2 separate regions of the Homo sapiens genome follow, and region 1 is linked to region 2. The links are contacts of gene promoters, found by promoter capture Hi-C in human tissues and cell types (Jung and others, 2019). All regions are on one chromosome and are shown on one strand. Each heading gives the region's core, a stretch centred on a gene start or on the middle of the fragment in contact. The rest is flanking DNA. Distances are from core to core; before and after follow the strand shown.

Region 1 (7,539 bases), core at 4,288-6,787, 170 kb before region 2:
CCATCTCTGCAAAAAAGAAAAAATTACCTGGGCGTGGTGTCAGGCGCCTGTAGTTCCAGCTACTCGGGAGGCTGAGGTGGGAGGATCGTTTGAGCCTGGAAGGTCAAGGCTGCAGTGAGCCATGATCACACCACTGCACTCCAGCTTGGGCAACAGAGTAATCCTGTCCGGAAAAAAAAAAAAATCTCCTGAGACAAACTGAGGGCTTACCTCCCATAGAAAACTTCAGTCTCCTGTTCAATCATGATAGTGGGTCCACAGCCTCAACTTCTACCTTTGGTACTTTCACCTACTCTCTAATGCAATAATTTCCCCCAATGCTTTAGTGGGGGCTCCAGTCAGGTGAAGGGAAAATAGTAGGCACAGTAGTAAAGAGCTGGGACTGGCAGTAATCCCTTGACAATTAGAGAGATGGCAGAGGCAGCTGTGGGTGGTAGTGATTTAATTAGAGTGAGTCACACCCTCCAGCTTGAATGAACTGGTCTCCTACCTATGGTGCATGCCAAGAGTTTACTACCCCTAGTCTAGGTCATTAGGACCAAATGAAATGTGATAATAAAGATATTGAATAAACTTGGGAATTTTACCTTTTTTTTAGATTGCATTTTGGCAGGAATATTCAGCTAAAGGACCAACCACAAAATCAGGTAAAACAAGAATTGATCAAATTTAATGCTTTTCTCATCCTCTCTCTGTTGTAATACATTTTAGTTTTATTGTTTGAGTTTGGTTGTTGCGCAACATACATACCTTATAAATCCAAGGAGATTTCTCAACTATGCACCGGGCTATCTCAGACAGAAAAGGACAGATTCATCTATTTAATACACTGAAAATCAAGTTTGGTGAGATACTAGGAAAATGAGATAATGGGCTTAAAGCTGTTTTAAACAGCTCAGCTAAGTCAAGACTTGCACAGAATAAAAGCAGATTCTATTCATTTCAAGATGTAAGCTATTTTAACTTTTTTTCTTTTTTACCATTAAAGGCAGATGGAACATTTATGCTAGATAAATTAAGATTGTTGGATCGAATTAAGTAACTTGTAGAGAGGGGAGATCTTTATCTCATCTGTATTGATCATCTCTAGCTGCATTTTAGTCAGGTGTTTTTTTCGCCAGCTATTCTTTCATTCCTCTTAGGTAGGGCCCCCTCCATGGCAGGTTATGTTGCATAGCTACCCTGAGTTGCTTAATAAATATTATCTCAGTGGTTAATACCAAAGTATGTCTAGTTGAGCAGTGAATATGTTTATCCCACTTAATGCTGAATATTATCCATTTAATAAATGGATATTTCAAATATTTTTAAATAAATAATTTTTAAATAAATAAATTTAAATAACAAAATATTTTGAATATTATTAAAATATAAGTATTATATTTTGAATATTATTAAAATATAAGTATTATATTTTGAATATTATTAAAATATAAATATATTTTGAATATTATTAAAATATAGATATATTTTGAATATTATTAAAATATAAATATATTTTGAATACTATTAAAATATAAATAGTATATTTTAAATATTATTAAAATATAAGTAGTATATTTTAAATATTTAAAAAATATATATATTTTAAATAAATAAATATATTTATATTTTAATAAATAAAAGAATAACCATAACTAGGGCTATTAGAAGTGTCATTTAAATTTTTTTCAGGTAGATTCTCTAGCACAAAGACTTGAAAGAAGTCAACATCAATGATTAGATGCTGTATAATGTGTTTAGAACCAGGATTAAATTTGTTGAAATCATAGGTGATGCTATATAGTTGTTATATTTATGTTATTTTAATGATTTATTTTAAGATGGCAACAGAGAGAAAATAGATGTTATGGGCCTTCTGACTGGATTAATTGCTGCTGGAGTATTTTTGGTTATTTTTGGATTACTTGGCTACTATCTTTGTATCACTAAGTGTAATAGGCTACAACATCCATGGTAAGTACTAAGTGAAATTATTTAATTCATCACTAGACATTCTATATTATTATTTTAACAATGGGTCAAGCAAATGGCTGCCTATTTTCTTAAATAAGCCTTTTATTTTGGAAGAATTTTAGATGTATAGGGAAGTTGCAAAGGTTAATACAGAGAGTTCCCACATATCCATCACCCAATTTCCCACATTGTTAATATCTTGTATTACCATAGTAGATTTATCAAAACTAAGAAAATGACATTGGTTCATGACTATTAACTAAACTCCAGACTTTGATTTCAGCAGTTTTCCCACTGGTGTTTTCCTTCTGCTGCAGGATCCAGTCAAGTTACCACATTGCATTTAGCTGTCATGTCTTCCCAGTCTGTGGCAATTGTCTGGTCTCCTAATTTAACATTTACATAAACAACCTAATGATGCTATTTCTAAGGTCCTTCGAAAGAATACAAGAAGTTTCACATAGGTCAGCTTCATTTTTCAGTATTTCCTTCTTAAGCAAGAGGCAGATACCAGTGTCTTCACATTATTTCCAGAGGCAAGAAGTCCTATAGTTTACGCTGAGTCACAGAGTTAACAGATCCACATGGCTACCCAAATAGAAACAGTGTAACTGGCTTTTAAATTCAACTATTTTTATTAACACTTTAAATTGAAGTTAATAAAATAAAATGCTTACCAATTGAGGATAATAGCACATTGATAAAGCTTCAGAAAGATTCATAAAGGCCATAATTGTTTGCATAATAGAAGCTCAGCATCCCTATTGAAATAAAAAGTACTGATTATCTTCCCAGTAAGTATGGCTGAGTAGGCGTAGAAACAATCTTATTAAAAAAAAAAAAAGCAGCAGATGCTAAACAGGCTATTAGAAATTGATACTTATTTATCACTATTCACACTTTCAAATTCTATGAACAAGCTCAAGGTGGCGATCATGTTACTTTCTTTTATGATAACGATCATTTTACTTATCTTTTCAGCAAAATGGGCAGTGTTTTTGTATCCCTCCAAAAGAATAGAAAGTATTCTTTATCATATATATTAGAAGACTCTTTGTCTTCTAAATTAATAATAGCTTTCAATTCATATCAAGTAAACTTTAAATTTTACATAACAATTGACCTATATTGTTCAAAAAATGTCAGTGTCATGAAAGACAAAGACAGGCTAAAGAAATAACTGTTCCAAATTAAAGTAAATGACATGACAATTAATGCAATGTGTGATCCTGGACTGAATCCTAGACCAAAAAAATGAATTGCTAAAAAGGAAAATTTGCCTGGCATGGTGGCTCACACCTATAATCCCAGCACTTTGGGAGGCCAAGGTGAGAGGATCACTTGAGGCCAGGAGTTCAAGACTCAAGACCATCCTGGGCCACATAGTGAGACTCCTATCTCTATAAAAAAAAATTCAAAAATTAGCTGGGCACGGTGGCCTGAGGCTGTAGTCTCATCTGCTTGTGGGGCTGAGGTGGGAGGATCATCTGAGCCTAGGAAGTCAAGGCTGGAGTGAGCCATAATTGCACCACTGCACTCCAGCCTGGACAACAACAACAACAACAAAAAGGAAAATTTAGGAGAAAATTTGGATATAGCTACATGTTAGATAATAGTAATGAACCAATGTTAAGTATTCCAAATTTATGTGAAGATCTTTTCAAAATACTTAATTCTGTAGTGGTTCTAAAATTCTATTGGCAGTCAGTAAAAAACAGAAGATAATTACAACAACATGGCATCAAAAATTATTTTTAATTGGTTAAATATTTAGAGTTTTTGTCCATTTTAAAAGAGGATTGTACAACTATTCAAGTCTAAATACAATATAAAAATAGGCCTATAAGAAACTGGAAGACTTTAATCACAACTGTTTAATTGGTTTAAAGTTTTTCTTCATTGTTTCATATCCAGATATAAAATGAAAATAGAATGACATGTATAGGAAGGGCACCAAACTAGGAATTTGGAGGCAAAAATTCTCATGTTAATTTTGCCACTATTTATGGAGCTTGAAGCAAATTCCTTGATTTTTTTAAGATCTTTCCTCATCTAAAAGAGGAATGAAAGGAATAGACTGTGATTCCTCTTAAAGTTCCTTAATATTTTTTTATTTTGCCAAAGATGAGAACAAATTTTTTGCCCTTGATTATATTGTCAGAATTAGAGTTTTTAAAGTTATTTATTAAAAAGAAGCTTGGCTGGGAGCAGTGGCTCACACCTGTAATCCCAGCATTTTGGAAGGCCAAGCCGGGCAGATCACCTGAGGTCAGGAGTTCAAGACCAGCCTGACCAACAAGGAGAAACCCCGTCTCTACTAAAAATACAAAATTAGCCAGGCGTGGTGGCACATGCCTGTAATCCCAGCTACTCGGGAGGCTGAGGCAGGAGAATCACTTGAACCCAGGAGGCAGAGGTTGTGGTGAGCCGAGATCAAGCCATTGCACTCTAGCCTAGGCAGCGAGAGTGAAACTCTGTCTCAAAACATTAATTAATTAATTAAAAACTAAAAAGAAGCTTTTACATATATACACATGTAAATGAAATTAGTAAATATAAAAGATACATTTTCCTCTAAAATTTAATAAAAATATTTTCTCTTGAAGAAAGTGTATTATTATTATTATTTAGAGATGGAGTCTTGCTCTGTTGCCCAGGCTGGAGTGCAATGGTGTGATCTCGGCTCACTGCAACCTCTGCCTCCTGGGTTCAAGCAATTCCCCTGCCTCAGTCTCCTGAGTAGCTAGGATTACAGGCGTGTGCCACCACACCCAGCTAATTTTTGTAGAGACGGGGTTTCACCATGTTGGCCAGGCTAGTCTCCAACTCCTGGCTTCAAGTGATCCATCTGCTTCGGCCTCCCAAAGTTTTCGGATTACAGGCATGAGCCACCGTGCCCAGCCAGAAGAAAGTTTAAAGTAGGTTGTTTCATTTCATCTGGTGTTAATTGCTTAAAAAATCATTTCCATTGTGATAAGAGCATCTGAAAATGTGCTGATTATGGAGGCTGAGGTCTTTAAAAAGATTTTATCCTGTTTTTTGCCTACAAAAGTAATACATGCATTATTTTAAAATTCAAATATTATAGAAAGGTATAATATAAAAAATGAAAGTCCTCATAATCCTACTTTTCAAAAATAACCACTATTATGAATTTGGTATGTAAAACTCCAGATTTTTTTCTATGCATATACTATTCAGTTGGTGCAAAAGCAATTGCGGTTTTTGCCATTTAAAGTACTGGCAATTGCTTTTGCACCAACCTAATAACATATTTTATGTTTTCAAAAGAAATGTTCGTTACATGTCCTCCTCTGCAACTTGCCTTTGGCACTGAACAATATAATTTAAATATATTTCCAGTGCAGTACATTTTTAAAAAATAGTAAAATATATGTAACATAAAATTTACCATCTTAACCGTTTTTAAGTATACAGTTCAGTAGTATTAAGTTGATTCACTGTTGTGCAACCAATCTCCCGTTTTTCTGTTTTTTTTTTTTTTATTTTGCAACAGTGAAGTTCTGTGCCCAGTGAACAAACTGTTTCCCATTCTCCCCTCTCCCTAGGCTTTAGCAACCACTATTTTACCTTTTGTCTCTGAATTTTACTACAATAACACCTCATGTAAGTGGAATCATACAGTATTAGTCTATTTTTGACTGGCTTATCTAGCGCAGTAATTTTAAATCATTAATAGAGTCTCTTCAAAATGTTTTATTACAGCATTTCATTTATGTTTGATGAAGTTTTTTTAAATTCTAAAATATAGTAAGATGTGATTCCTTTCTAAAATACATTAGTCCTAGCCCAGCTCCTGTTTCTGGAAGAGACCACCAAGGTGTATTCTCCCTATCCTAGAAATAGATATGGTATAGTGGTTCACTGTGTGAGCTCTGGAGCCAGACTGCCTGGATTCAAAACCCTGGTACGCCACTAACTAGCCGTTTGACTTTGGAAATGTTACTTAAACTTATACTCTGCCTCAGTTTCTCTGTGAGTAAATTGAAGGTAATAATCTGAGCCACCACACTACATAGTTCCAGAGAGTTGCCATTCACATGGGCTACTGTATGAATGGTACCCTCTGGTTTGTGTAGTATGGTAGCTCAGATAATAACTGTATGTATGTCATAAGGGACTTACAGGATTTAAATGACGTGATACACAAAAAGTACTTAAGAGAGTGCTTGGTAGCAAGAGTAGCAAGTACTCAATAAATGTTAGCTATTATTATTATTATTATTATTATTATTATTATTATTATTATTATTATTTTGAGACGGAGTCTAGCTCTGTTACCCAGGCTGGAGTACAGTGGCATGATCTCGGCTCACTGCAACCTCTGCCTCCTGGGTTCAAGCGATTCTCCTGCCTCAGCCTCCCAAGTAGCTGAGATTACAGGCATCTGCCACCATGCCCAGCTAATTTTTGTATTTTTAGTAGAGACGAGGTTTCACCATGTTGGCCAGGCTGGACTTGAACTCCTGACCTCAAGTAATCCTCGTGCCTTGGCCTCCCAAAGTGCTGGGATTACAGGCATGAGCCACTGCACCCGGCCCAGCTATTATTATTATGAATTTGCAAACTAAGATTTTTCTAAAAAGCTTTCACTGGAATGTTTATGTATTCCCATCCAATATTTGTATTTCTTTAAAAATATGTCTAGACTGTAAATGAACTGCAGATTCTCCAGTGTTCATATAAAATTAAAACATATTATCAGAAGGTAATATAGATAGTATAATCAGAAAGTATTATATTGCAAATAAGTTTTCTTCAAATTTGGTAGATCTACAAAAATTTTATTTGGCCTATGAAATCTCCCTAGCTTACCTGACCTTTATGATCTTGTAAAAAAAATAAAAATAAAAATAAAAAAAATCTCCCTTAGCTGTATTTATAACCATCTTCCACATCACCTGCTGTTGCTAACCATATACTGTACACCACTTTCACACTACCTTCTCATTTAGTACTCTCAGTATTTGTATAGTGTATTATGGCACATAAAGGAGATTACATGGAGTGATTACCATTTGAGTGAGGCAACTACATAACAAAAAAGCAACTTGGATATAAACTTGTAAGATAGAGAACACTCGGCTGGGTGCGGTGGCTCACGTCTGTAATCCCAGCACTTTGGGAGGCCGAGACGGGCGGATCACGAAGTCAGGAGATCGAGACCATCCTGGCTAAAACGGTGAAACCCCGTCTCTCCTAAAAATAAAAATAAAAAAAAATCAGCCGGGCGTGATGGCGGGTGCCTGTAGTCCCAGCTACTTGGGAGGCTGAGGCAGGAGAGTGGCGTGAACCCGGGAGCTTGCAGTGAGCTGAGATTGTGCCACTGCACTCCAGCCTGGGCAACAGAGCAAGACTCCGTTTCAAAAAAAAAAAAAAAGATAACACTGTTCTTATAAATGGCTAGGAATGTCAAGTCAAGCAGGCATACCATCAGTGTGGGATACAACTAGTCACTTTGGCGGACATGGGTTTTAGAGGAATTAACTAGGAAGGGGTGTTTCAAGAAAGTGGACCCACAGGAGCAAAGACAGGTACTACCAAGGCTCATATAGGAGATGA
Region 2 (7,680 bases), core at 1,002-3,501:
TTATAATAAAAAAAGATATGTGTGTGCTGTAATAATCAGAGAGTATCAATACAAGCAGGAGATGAATAGTAATGCATTTGATAAGTGCCACAGGTGCTCAGAGAAAAAAAACACACCCGGGTAACCTGGAAAAATCTGTCCAGGGAAGAAAGTGGGAAAAGGGATAGGCATTTCCTATCCCATGGTTGTAGAAAGTATCTGAGTAGAGATGAACATTTCAGCATTCCAGAAGAGGTAAACAATTATTGCATAACCTGGTGAAAAACTCTCTGAAATGTTATATAAAGTATCAAAATGGTCACTGAGGTCACCAAGCTTTTTCAAATATTAGTGTTTTTCAAGATTTGTCTTCTGAGACAGATGAGCTTTTCCCCCCTCCCATGCAGTGAGGGAGGACTTGTGTGTTCATTCAGTTATACAGCACGGGATAAAGTTCATTGGTATACTGGGTGCCTGAAACCAGCCCTGAATGCATCCTCTTTCTGTGTGTAGCAGCCAATTGAGAGATTACAAAGAAAATCCTTAAACAGAAGTAAAGCAGGGTTTTACTACCATCAGGGGAAGAGGTCACATTAAAAAAAGGTTGCCAACTGGTTGGCAACCTTTTTTTTTCTTTTTTGAGATGGAGTCTCACTCTGTCATCCAGGCTGGAGTGCAGTGGCACAATCTTCGCTCATTGCAACTTCCGCCTCCTGGATTCAAGCGATTCTCCTGCCTCAGCTTCCCAAGTAGCTGGGATTACAGGTGCCTGCCACCACACTCGGACAGTTTTTGTATTTTTAGTAGGGGTTTCGCCATCTTGGCCAGGCTGTTCTCGAACTCCTGACCTCGAAGATCCCCCTGCCTCGGGCCCCCCAAAGTGCTGGGACTACAGGCGTGAGCCACCGTGCCTGGCCAGCTTTTTCTAACACTAAGCAGCAGCAACTGGCCCCCACCTCCCACCCACAAACCCAAGTCCCCAGGGGCAGCTTCTTAGTATGTATTCTCTGAAACAATCCCATGTAGAAGCTCTTTCCAATAAGCTAAATAATGAACTCCCACTTAAACACCATTCTAATTTACACCTAAATCACACAAGCATCCTCCTTCTAAGAAGACGTCATAATCGTTTTGAAAATCATTGCAAAATTCCCAAACTTGAAAAAAAAGAAAAAAAAAAGGGCAAGTGTCTGGCAATTGGATTATTGGTCTCTAAGACCACTCATCCTTTCAGAGGTATCCAGCATTGGATCCCTGGCCTGGCTTCAACTTCCAAGTAACTAAGATGTGTCCCATTAATAGCCCTTCCTCCTTTTCTCTCCTCACCTTCACTCCAACCGGCAGCAAACTGTCCCTACCCACCCGACCCACAGTTCCTTTGGAGGCAGCACAGATTTCCTGGCAGCCAGTCCCAGGGTCTTTCGTTGCTGCCCTCCTGTGACCTCTAGACATTGCTCTCCTGGGCCACATAGGATTTGTTTGTTCTGCACAGGTAGGGATGTCTGAAAAACTCGATTATTATTGTTATTATCACTATTACTACTACTACTATGACATAATTTTAAGCACTTACGTTCCGGACGCAGTTACTAAATGCTGAACCTGAATTGGTTCCTATAAACCTCGTTAAAAAACAAACAAACATCTCAGTGAAGCAGGTACTAAACCTACCCCCGCATCACAGGTGAGGACACCGACGCACAGAGCAGTTAGGCAGCTTGCCAGGTTCCCGACTTTTTCTATTTCTTTTTTTTTTTTTTTTTTTTTTGAGACGGAGTCTCGCTGTGTCGCCCAGGCTGGAGTGCAGTGGTGGATCTCGGCTCACTGCAACCTCCGCCTCCTGAGTTCAAGCGATTCTTGTGCCTCGGCCTCCCGAGTAGCTGGGATTACAGGCGCCTGTCACCAAGCCCAGCTAATTTTTGTATTTTTAGTAGAGAAGGGGTTTCGCCATGTAGGCCAGGCTGCTCTCGAACTCCTGACCTCAGGTGCTCTACCTGCCCTGGCCTCCCAAAGTGCTGGGATTACAGGCGTGAGCCACCGCGCCCGGCCTGGTCCCGAGTTAATCTACGGCAGGCCGCGGTTCGAATCCCGCTGGTGTGAGCCGCGGGCCGCGTAGTGCCGGCCCAGGGAACCGCTTTGTCCCCGACCACCGCTCGCGTGGCATCGCGCCCGAGGAAACTTGGATCGCTGGCGCCGCGGGCTACGTTCAGTGGTTGCCAGAGAGACACGTGACCGGCAGCGGGGGCGGGGCCTGCAGGGAGCCACGCCCCGCACAGTTAACAGACGGGCGCTCAGGGAGCTAGGGAGCTGTGAAGCTGCTGGAGGAGTTGGCGTCCGGGGAGCAAGGGCCATGGCCACCGTGCAGGAGAAGGCTGCTGCGCTGAACCTCTCGGCTCTCCACAGCCCCGCGCACAGGCCTCCGGGTAGGTGCCGAGGACTGCCGCCTGGGATGGCGCGGGGCGGGCTGGGGTGCGCGGGCTGGGTCCCGGCGCGGGGCGGGCGGCGTGGGGCGTTCGGCCGCCTGCGCCTGTCAACGGCCGGCTGGGCGAGCACAGCACAGCTGCGACCACTTGGCCAACGCCCCCGCCGAGCGGGCGGATCGAGTTCCTCTCTGGCTGGTGGGCTGCAAGCGGCAGAGCCCGCCCGCACAGCCCAGCTTTTTTCTTTCTACCCAGACTCTCAACTTGACCGCGCGTTGGTCTGTGCGCCCGCTAACGTGCCAGGCACGCGCCGGGGAGCTCCGGGATATGCTCCGCGGTGCTACCGGTGACAAGTGTGGTATCTGGAATTTGTGTAGTTCTTTGCCCCCTGTCTCAACCACAAACCTTGACGACACAGTATGGCCAGGGGCCGAGCTCCTCCCTTGCCCACTTTGTTCTCCAGACTGCTAGGAGTCAAGAGTCAGCTTGTCTCCCCAGACTCTTCCTGGGAGGGATGAGAGGTTTATGTGAGTTCTACTGGCAGGAATTTGGCATAAAAGGTATTTATTAACACTTTATGTATAAGCAGTATTTTAGTGAATAGAAGTTTTTGGCTAAAAAAACAGTTACATGAAATTAGGAGGGAAGTTGGCAAATTCTGCCACGGGCCTAATCGTGTCTTTTGGGGGCAGTTGATTTAGGATTCTGGTTTCTTTAAATGTTCAAACACATGAAGAGAATCGGATATCACTTCTAAAATGCTGGTTATAGCAGATCTACAACCCAGTTAATAGGGGTGACTCAGATAACTGTTAAGATACTCAGATAACCCTTGGCTTTTTTCTTTTGGTTAAGTTACAACTTTTTCCCCTTTCTGGAGCTCCAGTCTGGGATGTCGTAGGAATTAGTTCCCTTTCTGACAAAAGCCTTTCATTTGTAAAAACACCAACCAGTGAAACTGTGATTCCTTCCTCTGGGTCAAATGGGTGCTTCTCAGTGGCCCCACTCTTGTGTTTGACTTACTCACTAATGCTCATTTTAATCTTCAAAATGCTAACGACAGATTATGGTAGAGAACCATTTTTCACTTGTCCTTTTCTAAGAAAAATCATAATATTGACCTTAGTCTGCTTCCATGTAAAGGATTCAGGTAAGCACATAGTGGCCACATTGAGAATGTCTCCTTGATTTATGTTGTGAAGAGAAGACAAATGCTAAGACATTTGGGAATTTAAAACCAAATGACATTGAAAACAGTCTTGAGAAATCTTTTGGGCCCACTTACTCAGTGAAGGAAATTCCCAAATGTCACCTGCTTAAAATAAAAACATGGTACCCTGTTTTCTCTAATAGCTGAAATACCAATTCTGGAGCTTTGGGCATTTGTGAACAGGTTCTTAGATGGTGTAAGGAAGTATGTATTCAGAAATTAAGTAGATAACTCTCTAAGGGAAGAGTTGAAGTGCTGGTTATCAGGAATCAAAGGAACACTGTCCTCGGCACACTAGCTGCAGTGGACGGAGAGGGGCCCGCTGTTGTTCTCACTCGTTTTGCTTGCTACCGCTGGAATCCCGACCTGGTAACATTTGTTAGCCTTTCTTTCACCCTTTAGTTGCCTTGTCATAGTTCCAGTGAGCAAGGTAGTGGGAGCACACGGTTATTGGTTCTTTGCCATTCTCTTTCTGTGTGCTCTGGCAGGCAGCTTTGTACTTTTGTTTCTCCACCGATTAGTAACTCTCACTTACCTTAAAGGGGCTGTAATGACCAGGGACCTGATTTATGTACAAGAAATGAGATCTATATGCCAGTCTTCAGCCAGTATGTCAAAAACACTTGTCTTTTAATACGACAAACAAGAAAGTAGTCTGTTATCCTGTTATCCCTTTATACTGTAACCTAATTCTTTGAGTTTGCCTGGTATCACTTTTCCAGGGAGCTCAAAGTACTTCCCATATGCTGTCTCATTAATGTATGTGAATTAAAGCAGAGACCAATGTCTGCTTTTGCTGATAATTCTCGTAGATATTGTAAATTTTTCTTGTTGGTAGACTTCTTTTACCTACCTGCAGCCTTCTTTTCAGAGGCAATCGCAGTCTTCAGCATGACGCCTCTAATGCCAACTAGCAGGAAAATAAACTTTGGACTACCAGAACCAATATCCAGTAAAAGTGTTGTAATCTTGGGATCATAGTATAGAAAATTTTTCCACTCAGTCACAACTGTCAAGTTTTAACACCATAAACACAATTCTCTTTACATTTATCTATTAATATTTTCATGAGGTTTTGGTTACTATCCAACAAATGTCCTTTTTCTTTGTTGTCTTGACAATTCTTTGTGTGAGTAATATTTTAAAACCTCTTTTGAAAAAATCTTTCTTAAAATTCTCTTAAATCCTAAATGGTCTAGGATTTATAGATGTGTTATTTTCTGATGAAAAGTTAAATCCTCTGGTATGTGTCACATCTTGTCTTCTCATCTCCTGTTGGCCTTTATGTGATTGAATACTATTCAGAACTTGACATTATCATCCAGGTAGTAGGAGTAAATAAAAGGTAAACTCCTAAGGTTGGGGACTGTGTCCTCTGAGTTCAGAGGAAGGAAGAGGAAGAAAGATACCTCCCTTTTCTTTCTACTTTTAAAATAAAATTTTAGATTCACTAAATAGTATGGTCCATTTGTCATAATTAATGAACCAATATTGATACATATAATTATTAACTGAAGTCCACACTTAGATTCCCTTGGTGTTTGCCTAATGTTCTCTTCCAGGATCCCATCCAAGATATTATATTACATTCAGTTGTCATGTAATGAATCTACTCTTCTAGACTGTGACAGTTTGCTCCTTTTGTTTTTAGTGATACATCTGTTAATTTCTGGACATTTTGCGAGACACATTAACATATTGTCTCATGATCCTCGCAATGAGTGAGAGAAGTGGAGTTAGCTCTGTTTTGCAACAGAAAAGTTAGGCAGTTTGCCCAAGATCGTGTTATTAGTAAATGATGGACCCAACAACGGAACTCAGGTCCCTGGGACTGCAGAGTCCACACTGGTCTAACTCTTTGTAGTCACAGCACCTAGCACTGTGTCTGCTGCGTTAACTCAAGTTTCCATGTCTGAACAGTATTCAGTCAACCCAAGGTTTCTTAACCTTGGCACTACTGACGTTTTCTTTGTTGTGGGTGCTGTCTGTGCATTGTAAGATGTTTAGTAGCATCCCTCTACCCACTGGATGCCAGCAATACCCACACTCATTGTGACAATCAAAAATGTCTCCAGACATGTCCTGTTGGGGGTATAATCACCCACTGAGAACCACTGGGTTAACCTTCCTTTAAAAATTTTTTTTATGAACGGGGTGTAGTGGCTCACACCTGTAATGCCAGCACTTTGGGAGGTTGAGGCAGGTGGATCATTTGAGGCCAGGAGTTTGAGACCAGCCTGGCCAATGCGACAAAACCCCATTTCTACTAAAAATCCAAAAATTGTCTGGGTGTAGTGGCGCACACCTGTAATCCCAGCTACTCAGGAGGTTGAGGCAGGAGAATCGCTTGAACCCAGGAGGCAGAGGTTGCAGTGAGCCGAGATCACACCACTGCATTCCAACCTGGATGACAAAGTGAGACTCTGTCTCAAAAAAGAAAAAAAAGTAAGTTTTTTAGTAGTTAGCAATAATTAACAACTAACAAATATTGACTAACCAATTGTATTATATTGAGGCAATCTGTAAGGCAATTAAATAATTTAAACCTCTGTAAACCGCTAGGAAATCTGAAAGAAATCGGGCACTAGCTCACCATCTCTTAAAAGTTTTATGGAGAAACATCAACTGTCTGGATTCAGTTCCTTTTTTTTTTTTTTTTTTAAGTCCAGTCTAAAGACCGAGAATGGAAACAAATTTGTTATATGTTCATTAAGAGGTAGTGTGTTTTATTAATTCTGTGTGTATGTTTACCTTACATTGGGATCCAATTTTATAATGTGTATATTGATCTACTTCTAAAGATTTAATATAATCTTACTATTTGAAGTGATTATACAATTGTTTTCCCTTTAAATAGGTTTTCATAGGTTTTCACAGTAGGACTAGGGTTGCTGACAGGGTGGATTATGGTTGATGCTGATTATCCCTAATTTTTGGGTAAATGTAATTTCTTTACATTTTTAGGGAATTATTATGACTCAGTTATTTAGTGTGAATTCTTAGAAGTGAGGATGATTATTACTGGTACTACACGTATATATAAGTGTTCAATATTATCTTAGAAGTTTAACTTTTACTTTTGGTAAACGTTTTTTATGGTAGAGTTCAAATACATGTGAAGGGCAGCTTTTGAAAAATAGCTATTGTTTTCAAGCAAATAAGGATGAGACTGCTTGAAAAATGAAGGTTAACTAGCCTAGATTTATATAGTGCTTGAGACTATGTGTTGAAGGCTAGATAATCAAATTATTCCTGAGCCTCCTTAGGCAACCTTCCAAAAGGTTTTGTATCTGGTAGGGTCAAATTTGTCCATATGCTTCCTTTCTTGCCTATAGATCTGCCATATTTGGTGTTCAATGTCCTTATCTAAATGGAGGAGATATAATTTCAGTCTTTACATTCCTATAATCAGTTTATTTAAAGACAGGATCTCACTCTGTCACCCAGGCTGGAGTGCAGTGGTGCGATCCTAGCCCACTGTAACCTCGAACTCCTGGCCTCAAGCAATCTTCCCGCCATGGCCTCCCAAAGTCCTGGGGTCAGAGGCATGAGCCACTGTGCCTGCCCTGGCAGTTTAGACCTGAAACTAACCTAAAATATTGTGTTCAACTATTTTATCAGTAGATAAAGAAACCTACTTACAGAGATTGTCTCTTATCCAGAGTTTTTACAGCTGATCTCTAAACTCTTTGATTCCATTTGTTATGATGCTTTTAGAAAATGCTTGACCAGGCTGGGTGTGGTGGCTCACACCTGTAATCCCAGCACTTTGGGAGGCCGAGGTGGGTGGATCACGAGGTCAGGAGTTCCAGACCATCCTGGCCAACATGGTGAAACCCTGTCTCTACTAAAAATACAAAAAAAAATTAGCTGCACGTGGTGGCGCGTGCCTGTAATCCTAGCTACTTGGGAGGCTGAGGCAGGAAAATCACTTGAAGCAGGGAGTTGGAGGTTGCAGTGAGCCAAGATCGCACCACTGCACTCCAGCCTGGCGACAGAGTGAGACACCATCTCAAAAAAAAAAAAAGAAAAAAAAGAAAATGCTTGACCAAATGTAAGGAAGCATCAAGA

What was found. The method cuts DNA at HindIII sites, captures the fragments that hold promoters and counts their contacts. A contact is called where the count stands out against the background at its distance.
Region 1: a fragment that was not itself captured here is called in contact with the fragment with the promoter of DEPDC7 in region 2 in 1 of the 25 tissues and cell types used here (spleen).

What each region holds. Positions count from the first base shown.
Region 1 is chr11:32,838,284-32,845,822 of GRCh38, forward strand. PRRG4 (proline rich and Gla domain 4) reads left to right here. Exons shown (of 6, transcript NM_024081.6): 4 at 599-647; 5 at 1,824-1,956. Among named protein-coding and RNA genes, the nearest start is that of PRRG4, 12 kb to the left of the region's middle. The HindIII fragment of the contact is 4,260 bases long and covers 3,408-7,539 here.
Region 2 is chr11:33,013,627-33,021,306 of GRCh38, forward strand. DEPDC7 (DEP domain containing 7) reads left to right here and starts at 2,252. Exons shown (of 9, transcript NM_001077242.2): 1 at 2,252-2,402. The coding sequence starts at 2,330. LOC105376615 (a long non-coding RNA gene) reads right to left here and starts at 2,164. Exons shown (of 4, transcript XR_931167.2): 1 at 1,651-2,164. RefSeq lists silencers at 2,097-2,146, 2,467-2,526. The HindIII fragment of the contact is 12,017 bases long and covers 1-7,680 here.